Regions from separate parts of the Homo sapiens genome. Here all the other regions are linked to region 1. The links are contacts of gene promoters, found by promoter capture Hi-C in blood cells and fetal thymus (Javierre and others, 2016). All regions are on one chromosome and are shown on one strand. The core of a region is centred on a gene start or on the middle of the fragment in contact, and the rest is flanking DNA. Distances in the headings are between cores, read along the strand shown. Region 1 holds the start of ATOSA (atos homolog A). Region 2 overlaps RAB27A (RAB27A, member RAS oncogene family). Region 3 overlaps CCPG1 (cell cycle progression 1).

The links. Contacts are between HindIII fragments. The CHiCAGO score rates a contact against its expected background, and 5 or more counts as called.
Region 2: a contact is called between a fragment that was not itself captured here and the fragment with the promoter of ATOSA in region 1, in 1 of 17 cell types (M0 macrophages). The highest score is 7.4, in M0 macrophages.
Region 3: a fragment that was not itself captured here is called in contact with the fragment with the promoter of ATOSA in region 1 in 1 of 17 cell types (M0 macrophages); the score reaches 5.4 in M0 macrophages.

Annotation. Positions count from the first base shown.
Region 1 is chr15:52,678,133-52,680,832 of GRCh38, reverse strand. ATOSA (atos homolog A) reads left to right here and starts at 1,445. Exons shown (of 13, transcript NM_001385016.1): 1 at 1,445-2,005. It overlaps LOC105370821 (a long non-coding RNA gene), which reads right to left and starts at 1,228. Exons shown (of 4, transcript XR_932255.4): 1 at 1,140-1,228. RefSeq lists a silencer at 1,510-1,829 and enhancers at 2,410-2,549, 2,680-2,700. The HindIII fragment of the contact is 2,387 bases long and covers 799-2,700 here.
Region 2 is chr15:55,268,766-55,271,465 of GRCh38, reverse strand. It overlaps RAB27A (RAB27A, member RAS oncogene family), which reads left to right. Exons shown (of 7, transcript NM_183235.3): 2 at 1,182-1,301. Among named protein-coding and RNA genes, the nearest start is that of RAB27A, 20 kb to the left of the region's middle. The HindIII fragment of the contact is 676 bases long and covers 985-1,660 here.
Region 3 is chr15:55,394,263-55,396,962 of GRCh38, reverse strand. The region is part of intron 1 of CCPG1 (cell cycle progression 1); the gene reads left to right. All of the region lies in intron 8 of DNAAF4-CCPG1 (DNAAF4-CCPG1 readthrough (NMD candidate)), which reads left to right. Among named protein-coding and RNA genes, the nearest start is that of CCPG1, 13 kb to the left of the region's middle. The HindIII fragment of the contact is 2,224 bases long and covers 265-2,488 here.

The DNA.
Region 1 (2,700 bases), core at 196-2,695:
AGTATTCAATAATATCAAAGTCAAATCCACTGGGATTTAACATTTGTAGCATTTTATAGATTAAAGAACTGTTTCCATTTGTCAGTTTCATCGTCATGATGCCAGAACATTTCAGAGAAAATGAAATGTTACCCTCCTGAATGTTCTCTCCGCTCTGATTAGATACAATCGTGGAGTTAAGGTTAACAATTTCAGTTGTACATGTTATTTTACTGTACATATCTAAGCACTAGAAAATGTTACTTTTTAAATATTTCATGCCTTTTTCATAAGAACTTTACCTGAGGCCAAAAAAATGGAACTGCCAATCTTGCAGTTTATAAAACTCTTCTGATGTGAAAATAATAGACTCATTGTAAAAAAAATTTTAAAACAGAAGGGCACAAATAAAAAAAATCCCCTTAGACTTGTCCTAATACTTTCCTGTGATCCTTTTATGCAAAATTATATCTAAAAAAAAAACTTTTTCTAATGAAACCAAAGAGCCTTGCAAATTTTTACTTGTCTCCATTTGGGCTCATGCCCCATATGTACTTTGTCTATAGACTGAGTAGCTAATAGCTGCAGCGCTTGTTAGGATTGGGTTTTTTTTTAAGTACAGCAGATTCCTGTCATCTGTTTGTGTTTAAATGACGACAACATCACAACATGAAATGCCATCATGTCACATTGCTATAGCACAACAACAAAATTACAGCTCCCCAACAATAACATGCTGTCAAAGTGTCCTCCTGCCCATGAGTCAGTGTTTTAGAAGTTATGAAGATTATTTTTAGCACAGCGAGTGTCTTGGAAGCTTGGGTTCTGAATCCTACTAAAATCCTTAGTGATTTGGGAAAATCTAGGGTGGGGGTGGGCTTCCTGTTCTTAAATTCTCCCACTCCCTGACCCGCATAGCTGCCCACCCCCCGTCCCGGTCACATTAAACCCGGGTTCCATTATGCGCTGCAATCCACTTGGGGCTCGATCACAACTCTGTGCCAGCATCCCGGGAGGAGGAGGAGGAGGAGGAGGAGGGGGGGAAGGAGGGGGAGGGGGGAGGAGGAGGAGGAGGAGGAGGAGGAGGAGGAGGAGGAGACGACGACTATAATTATCCTCCACGTCTGGGGCAGGCCTTTGGATGACATCTCCCCAGTTACCCTGCGCTCTAATAGCGCAGCTCCGATTCCTGGTCTCAGAATCCAGGCGCGCCTCTGCCGGCTGGGAGCGCAACCGAAGTGCCTGGGACGTCTCGGGCTTCCGGGACTCTGCTGGTGTCTCCCAGCCGCCATCTCCAGCGCCCTCGCACCCGCCGGGCACCTGCACCGAAAACCCGGCCCCAAACTAGCGCCCCGGGGCGAGCGGCGGCATTGCCATAGTAACCGGGCGCCAGGGCCGCGGAGGCCGCCGGGGAGGAAGTGACGACCGGGGTGGGTTGGCTGTTGTTGGGACACGTGACCTAGGCAGTGTTTTGACAGGGCAAACAGCAGAGAAAGAACTGGCCGAGCGAGGGGGACGGGGAGCCGGGGCGCCAGAGCTAGAGACAGCGGGCGGGCAAGGAGCTGGCAGAGGCGCTGGGCAAGAGGGCCGGCCGGGGCTACGGGCGGGGGAAGCCCGGGGGTCGCGGGGCTCGGGTGCCAGTCAGGCAGGGCGGAGGGGCTGAGCGCAGGGAGCGGAGCGAGGCGGTGGCTGAGGCGCGGGTGGATGGCCACAGGGGCGCCGGGGAGCCGCTTCGGGCTGGTCGTCTCGGGTCCCCACGGTCACCTGAGGCAGCCGCGGGGGCCGCTGCGCTCCATACTCCGCTCCCGCTGGCCCTGCGCCTCTCGGAGCCTGGGGTCTGAGGTGGGAGTGTGATGTGAGCTGCTGGGCGAGCGGTGGAGAGAAGTGCCAAGAGGAGGCGGGATTGGGACGGGAGAGGAGAGCGAGTTAGTCAGCAGAGGTCGGCCGAGGGAGCGGAGGAGCCGGCCAGCTCGAGAGCGCCATGAAAACAACTCTCCAGCGGGGAGAGGGGCAGACGCGGCGCTCGGTGCGGCGGGGCTGAAGGAAATCCGGGGCCGCGGCGGGACGGAAGGGGTTGTGCAGAGCAGGGGGCGAGCACAGGCTGTAAACACCTCCCCCGGAGCCGGCCGCGGAGGACTGGTTGGGAGTTGGTAGGGTCGCCCCGGGACAGCCCGGAAGAGTTCGTTTGGGGCTGGGGGCTGGGCGGGAGGAGGTGACTCGGGTTTCTGTGTAAACTTGGCCGCGGTTGCCGCAGGAAGGCTAGCCAGAGGGTAATTACACAGGTGAGGCCCGGCGGGGCGGGCGGAGGGCTCGGGAGGCGCAGGGGACTGGAAGAGTTGGCTGCGCCCAGGCACCAGGTGGAAGAATTTCCATACCAGCCCTGCGGAGGTGCCTCTGTTTCCAGAGGCGTTTTTGTACGAAGGGGTTAGTTTGTGTTGCTCAAATCTTTTTCTTCTTCTTGCCTGTACCTCCAGGTTATAAATAGATCCTGTTTTGGTTCAGAGACTGTGTCAGAAGGACACATTGGCCTGGAGAGCACAGAGGCAGGGAAGGGGGTGCTCGATCCGGAGGAGATGGGGGAGGCGGTGCAGAGAGTTTTGCTTTTTTCAGACCAGCCGAGGGTGCTGTCACCGCAGTTGGTGCCAGGAAGAGGCCTAACTTAACAGTAGTTTACTTGCAAGGTCCGGGTATTAGAATAGGGCCAGATTAATTTTATTTTTG
Region 2 (2,700 bases), core at 73-2,572, 2.6 Mb before region 1:
TGTGTATCAGAATCACCTGGAGTGCTTGTTGAACCACAGACACCTGTGCCCTATCCTCAGAATTTCTGATTCAGCTGGGTGGGCCCAAGAATGTGCAAATCTAATAAGTTCCTAGAAGATGCTATAATACTGGTCTTGGAACCACAGTTTGAGAACCACTTAACTTAGCGAATTATAAAACGTACTGATGGCTGGACTCTAGCAGCTTATAGGAAGGAGGCGGTGATACTGAAGGCAGAAGCTTAAGGAGCAGGGATTTTATTGTGGAGATTGTGGGGAGCCATTAACAGGAGAGTGATGGACTCTCATTTGCCTTTTGGAAAGATCACTTTGGGTGTGGTGTGGAGGATGGATCAGAGTCAAGAATACGTGGGGACCAGAAAACCAAATAAGTGGTTTATTATAGCCATCTAAGAAATAATAAAAACTTGGAGTAGGAGCAAGAAGATGAATATCCTTAGGACTTGGTGGCCAATTGGAAGTGGGAGGGGCAGAGAGGGAGGAGTTAATGAGAGCCATCAGATTTCTGGCTGTGTTGGGATTGTGTGATTCAAGACACAGGAAGAGAAGTGGGTTTGAAGCAAGGTTGTGGAGAAAAGCAAAGGAGGTGAGTACGGGACATGCTGGATTTGAGATGCCAGCAAGATATCTGGGTGGACTCCCTTGTAGGCAGTTTTACTTATGAAATTGGAGGCCAGCTGCAAGGTCTGGTAAGTAATCTAGCCCCATCCCTCCTGCCACTTCCATTTGATCCCCCATATTGTTTGTTTGGATCAGGCATTGTATTTGTAAGCAACAATATGAATATAACCTTTAAGGGCCTTGAGAATACAAGGCACTTTCTCAAGAAAACAAATGTTCTACTGTTTTGATTCACGGGGTAGGTGGGCGGAAGAAAGAGCTGAAGTGCAGAGTCTTCTAACACCAGAAGAGGTTAATAAAGCCGCCCTCTGAGTGGCCAGTCGAACTGGAACTTGGTAAGCTTGAAAGGGGCAAAAATCACTTGACTGGTCTGCAGTGCCATATGACAAACAGCTGAGACTAATTAGCTGGATTGTGGGTTTTTACAGCGATGCCTGTTTTGAAAGTTGATGGAGCGAACTGCTTTTCCAAAGACTCTTTTGAAAAACTTTTTAAGTAGGCCATTCTGACTTTAACATTTCTCTTTGTCTTAACATTAGACAAAAAGTAACCTTCCTGAAGAGGACATGTGATTGGAAGTTGTCAATTGTTGAAGCATTGGTAACTCCAGTCTCTAACGTTTTAGAAAATCATAACAAGCGGTTCTCTACCCTGTAAAGGTATGGTTTTGTATTTATCTTTTTTTTTTTTGGTAGTGGTTTTGAGCTCTGTCATGTCAATTTTCATGCGCTTAAATTATGTGCAATATAACATACAATACCATTGCACGTACTGTTTTTAAACTAAAGACTTAATGATGTCTACTAAATTTCTTGGGATTAGTTTGAAAAGTGCATTTTCAGTGACCACGGAGTGGGTATGAATACTGACCGCATTCTTCCTTTCTTTTCTGTACTTGAATAAAGAAACATAGGTTTTTACTTTCAGGAAATTGTTGAATATGAGAGCTGATTAGGAAATTGAATTATTCTGAGAGTCTTGCTTATCCTCTGAGGGTTGTTTGACAAAAATTCAAGCTTATTGGTGTTTTGTTTTTGATAGTATTAATAGCTTTTGTTTTGTTTTGTTTTGTTTTTTAAATTTGAGACAGAGTCTTGCTCTGTCGCCCAGGCTTGAGTGCAGTGGTACAATCTCGGGTCACTGCAACCTCTGCCTCCCAGGATCAAGTGATTCTCCTGCCTCAGCATCCTGAGTAGCTGGGACCCCACGCTACCATGCCTGGCTAATTTTTGTATTTTTAGTAGAGATGGGGTTTCACCATGTTGGCCAGCCTGCTTTCTAACTCCTGACCTCAAGTGATCTTCCCACCTGGGCCTCCCAAAGTGCTGGGATTACAGGCATGAGCCACCGTGCCCGGCCTAAAAGTGTTAATAGTTTTAATGGAGGAATGTAAGTGTGTGTTTTAGTATAAGGTTTATTTCTTCTGGGAATTAAATCTGCTTTTAAATTAGTGTTAATTCTGTTAGGTTTGATAAGGGTATTGTTATGTAAGGAAATGTCCATATATTTTAGAAATACGAAATGAAGTATGCCGGAGTGAAAGATCTGAGTGGTGAGTGTGATGGGAGATTTCATTATATAATTCTACTTCTGGATATTGTATTAGTTTACTAGAGCTGCCATAACAAAGTACCATAAACTGGGTGGCTTTAAAACTGTGTGATTTCAAAAACAGAAATTTATTGCCTCACAGTTCTGGAGCCTGAAAGTCTAAGATCAAGATGTCAGCGGGGTTGGTCCCTTTTGAGGACTGTGAGGGAGAATCCGTTCCAGGCCTTTCTGCTTAGCTGTGGATGGCTGTCTTCTCCCTATGTCTCTTCATGCCATCCTCCCTGTGTTCATGTCTGTGATCCCAGTTCCTTTCTTGTGAAGAGACCATGAGGGTGGATTAGGACCCACCCTAATGACCTCTTTTTAACTTGATTCCCTCTATAAAGGTCCTAGCTCCAAAAAACATTGTATTCTGAGGTACTGGGAGTTAGGGCTTCAACATGTGAATTTTAGGGGGACACAATTCAATCCATAACCGACATGTCTGAAAAGCTTCTTAATATGACA
Region 3 (2,700 bases), core at 127-2,626, 2.7 Mb before region 1:
GGAGTGCTGGGATTACAGGCGTGAGCCACCGCGCCCGGCTTATCTTGTGTTTAATCTTTTCCTCCTCTCTCCTGCTAGGCGATCCACACAGGCCTCCTTGCTGTTTCTCAGAGGTAGAGCTCTGATCTCAGCTTTATAGCTACTATTTCTTAAATGCTCTTCCTCCAGTTAACTGTATATAATGGTGCCTCACTCATTCAAATCTTTGCTCACATATACTTCAGCAATGAAGCTTGCCCTGACCATCGTTTTTAGAGTTAAGCTTCTCTATCCCAGCATAAATCTATCCCAGAATAAATCTCCTCAAATATTTTACAGGGTTTGACTGTTTTTGTCGACATAAGTCTAAGGTTTTTGACCTGAATGTGTGGTGACTCTTGCTTGTAATGGCTGTATTGTTTTTGGCTACTGCAATTCTGTGAGTTAGCAGAAATAGGAGCAGCAGGAAGATGATTTCAGTATTGTAGCTGTTGTGTGTTAAACACTTGAGAAACCTGCAAGGGGACATCAAAAGCAATTGGAAATATATGACTAGAGATCGAGTTAAAGAAACTACTCTGAGGAATAAAAGGAAGCCTGAGCCTAAACAGAGCTTCAAGTTTATTGTCTTCACAAAGTATTCTTCTTTTTATAACCGTATGATTTCTTAGCCTTTGTAACTGTCCTGTAAATTCTGCTTATTTCTAAATTACTATTAGTAAAGCTCTTAAAATGGGGAGGGTTTATACATTTACCAATGGTCAGATTAATGGGAGAGGAAGCTCATGGATTTCTCCAGAATTTTGAGTTCTTTTTTTTTTTTTTTTTTGGAGGTGGAGTCTTGCTCTGTTGCCCAGGCTGGAGTGCAGTGGTGCGATCTTGGCTCACTGCAACCTCCACCTCCTGGTTTCAAGCAATTCTCCTGACTCAGGCTCCTGAGTAGCTGAGACTACAGGCGCACGCCAGCATGCCCGACTAATTTTTGTATTTTTAGTAGAGATGGGGTTTCACTATGTTGGCCAGGTTGGTCTTTAACTCCTGACCTCCTGATCTGCCTGCCTTGGCCTCCCAAAGTGCTGGGATTACAGGTGTGAGCCACCGCACCCAGCCTAATTTTGAGTTCTGTAAAGAACAATTAACTGCACTATCACCCAGACGTGGTTACCTTTCTTGTTTATTGATTGCTTAATATGTATTTAGCATTCATTCAATATGTGTTGGGAATACATTATAGGCTGGTAAACAAGCAATTACAGCACAATATTCTATATTAAGTGCCAGATGCAGAAAATAATAAGAGTCTTAGGGATGGGGTCAAGGGATGGTTCTCAAAGGAAATGAACCGTTAGCTGAGACAAGCAGAGGAGTTTCGGTGGAGGTAAAGGGGATGGGCAACTGATCAGAATATGTAAAGCCCTGGAGTAAAGACAAAGCCAAGCATTTTGAGGGGAACTGAGAAGGTTGGGCAAAGCGGGAATGAATTAAAAGAGATGAGAGCTAGAGATAAAATACTTGATATTCAAGGCTTTGGGGCATTATCTTGAAGAAAATCTTAACATTTTAAAGGAATTACATAATGAGATTATCATTTGAAGATCTCTAGCTATAATGGGGAGGTTCAAACTGCCAGGGGGCTTTCATATTCACTGTGTCTAGGATAGGGCTTAAAAAGTTACTTTTTTTTTTTTCCTTTGATTGTAGTACACGCCCAACATTTTGAGAACAGTTGAATTAATAGGGTTCTTTAGTAAGCCTGTTAGTTTTGCTTATCCAAATTGTCATGGTGGTGTTAGGGCCAGCGGGAAATCTTTTTCTCTTTTGGGCTGGATGGTGTTACCAAAACACCAGGGGTTTGGTCTAGGTCCTGCTGCTTGCCGCACAGAAAGCCAATCACAGAGACGGGTATTGCCAGGGAAGAAGGCTTTAATTGGGTGCTGCAGCCAAGGACATGGGAGATCAGTCTCAAATCCATCTCAGTCTCAAATCCATCTCTGACTGACTAAAATTAGAGGTCTATATAGCAGAGAAGAAATGTAACCATGTGTGGGCAAACAGGAATTAGAGAGGGGTGAGGAAGAGAAGTTGGTCAACAGGCAGCAGGTGGTCAGTTAAGCAATCATGCAGGCTCTGGCTTCTCATTGTCCAGTTGCAGTGATCTGTTAAGTAAGTTTCAGCTTCTTAATACTATCTAGGAGGCCTGATGGTTTGTTTCCTAAGAAAGGAGCTTAGATAACACAAATAGAACTTTCTCAAGTTTTAAGACTGTGAGGATCAATTTCTGTATTTATTCAGAGAAACCATAAAGATCAGTTCTGTGGGATAATTGGCTGGTTTCAATGTTATCTTTCCTTGAAGGAAGTAAACAAAGCATTAAACTGGGGCCTGATTAAAGTGGGCTTATTGATTTGAGAAATTCAAGTATGGTAAGTTGTCCCAAGTCAGTAATGTATTTTACTTTTTTTTGTAATCTGTTAGAAGATGGGAGCAGGCAAAGGGAAGGAGGGAAGCTTTCACACAGTGGAGAAAGAATGCTTTTTAGGCTTCAGCCAGTTTTTCTTATCACAAAGCCCTCACCTACTTCTTGTTTCATATAGAATTCTTCCAGTTACCCAGTCACTTAAACCAGAAACCTGTGAGCTATCCTACACTTTCTCCCTTATATAGTTGGTTATTCAGTCCTTTAATAAAATAATCTTTAGGCTGTGTACAGTGGCTCACACC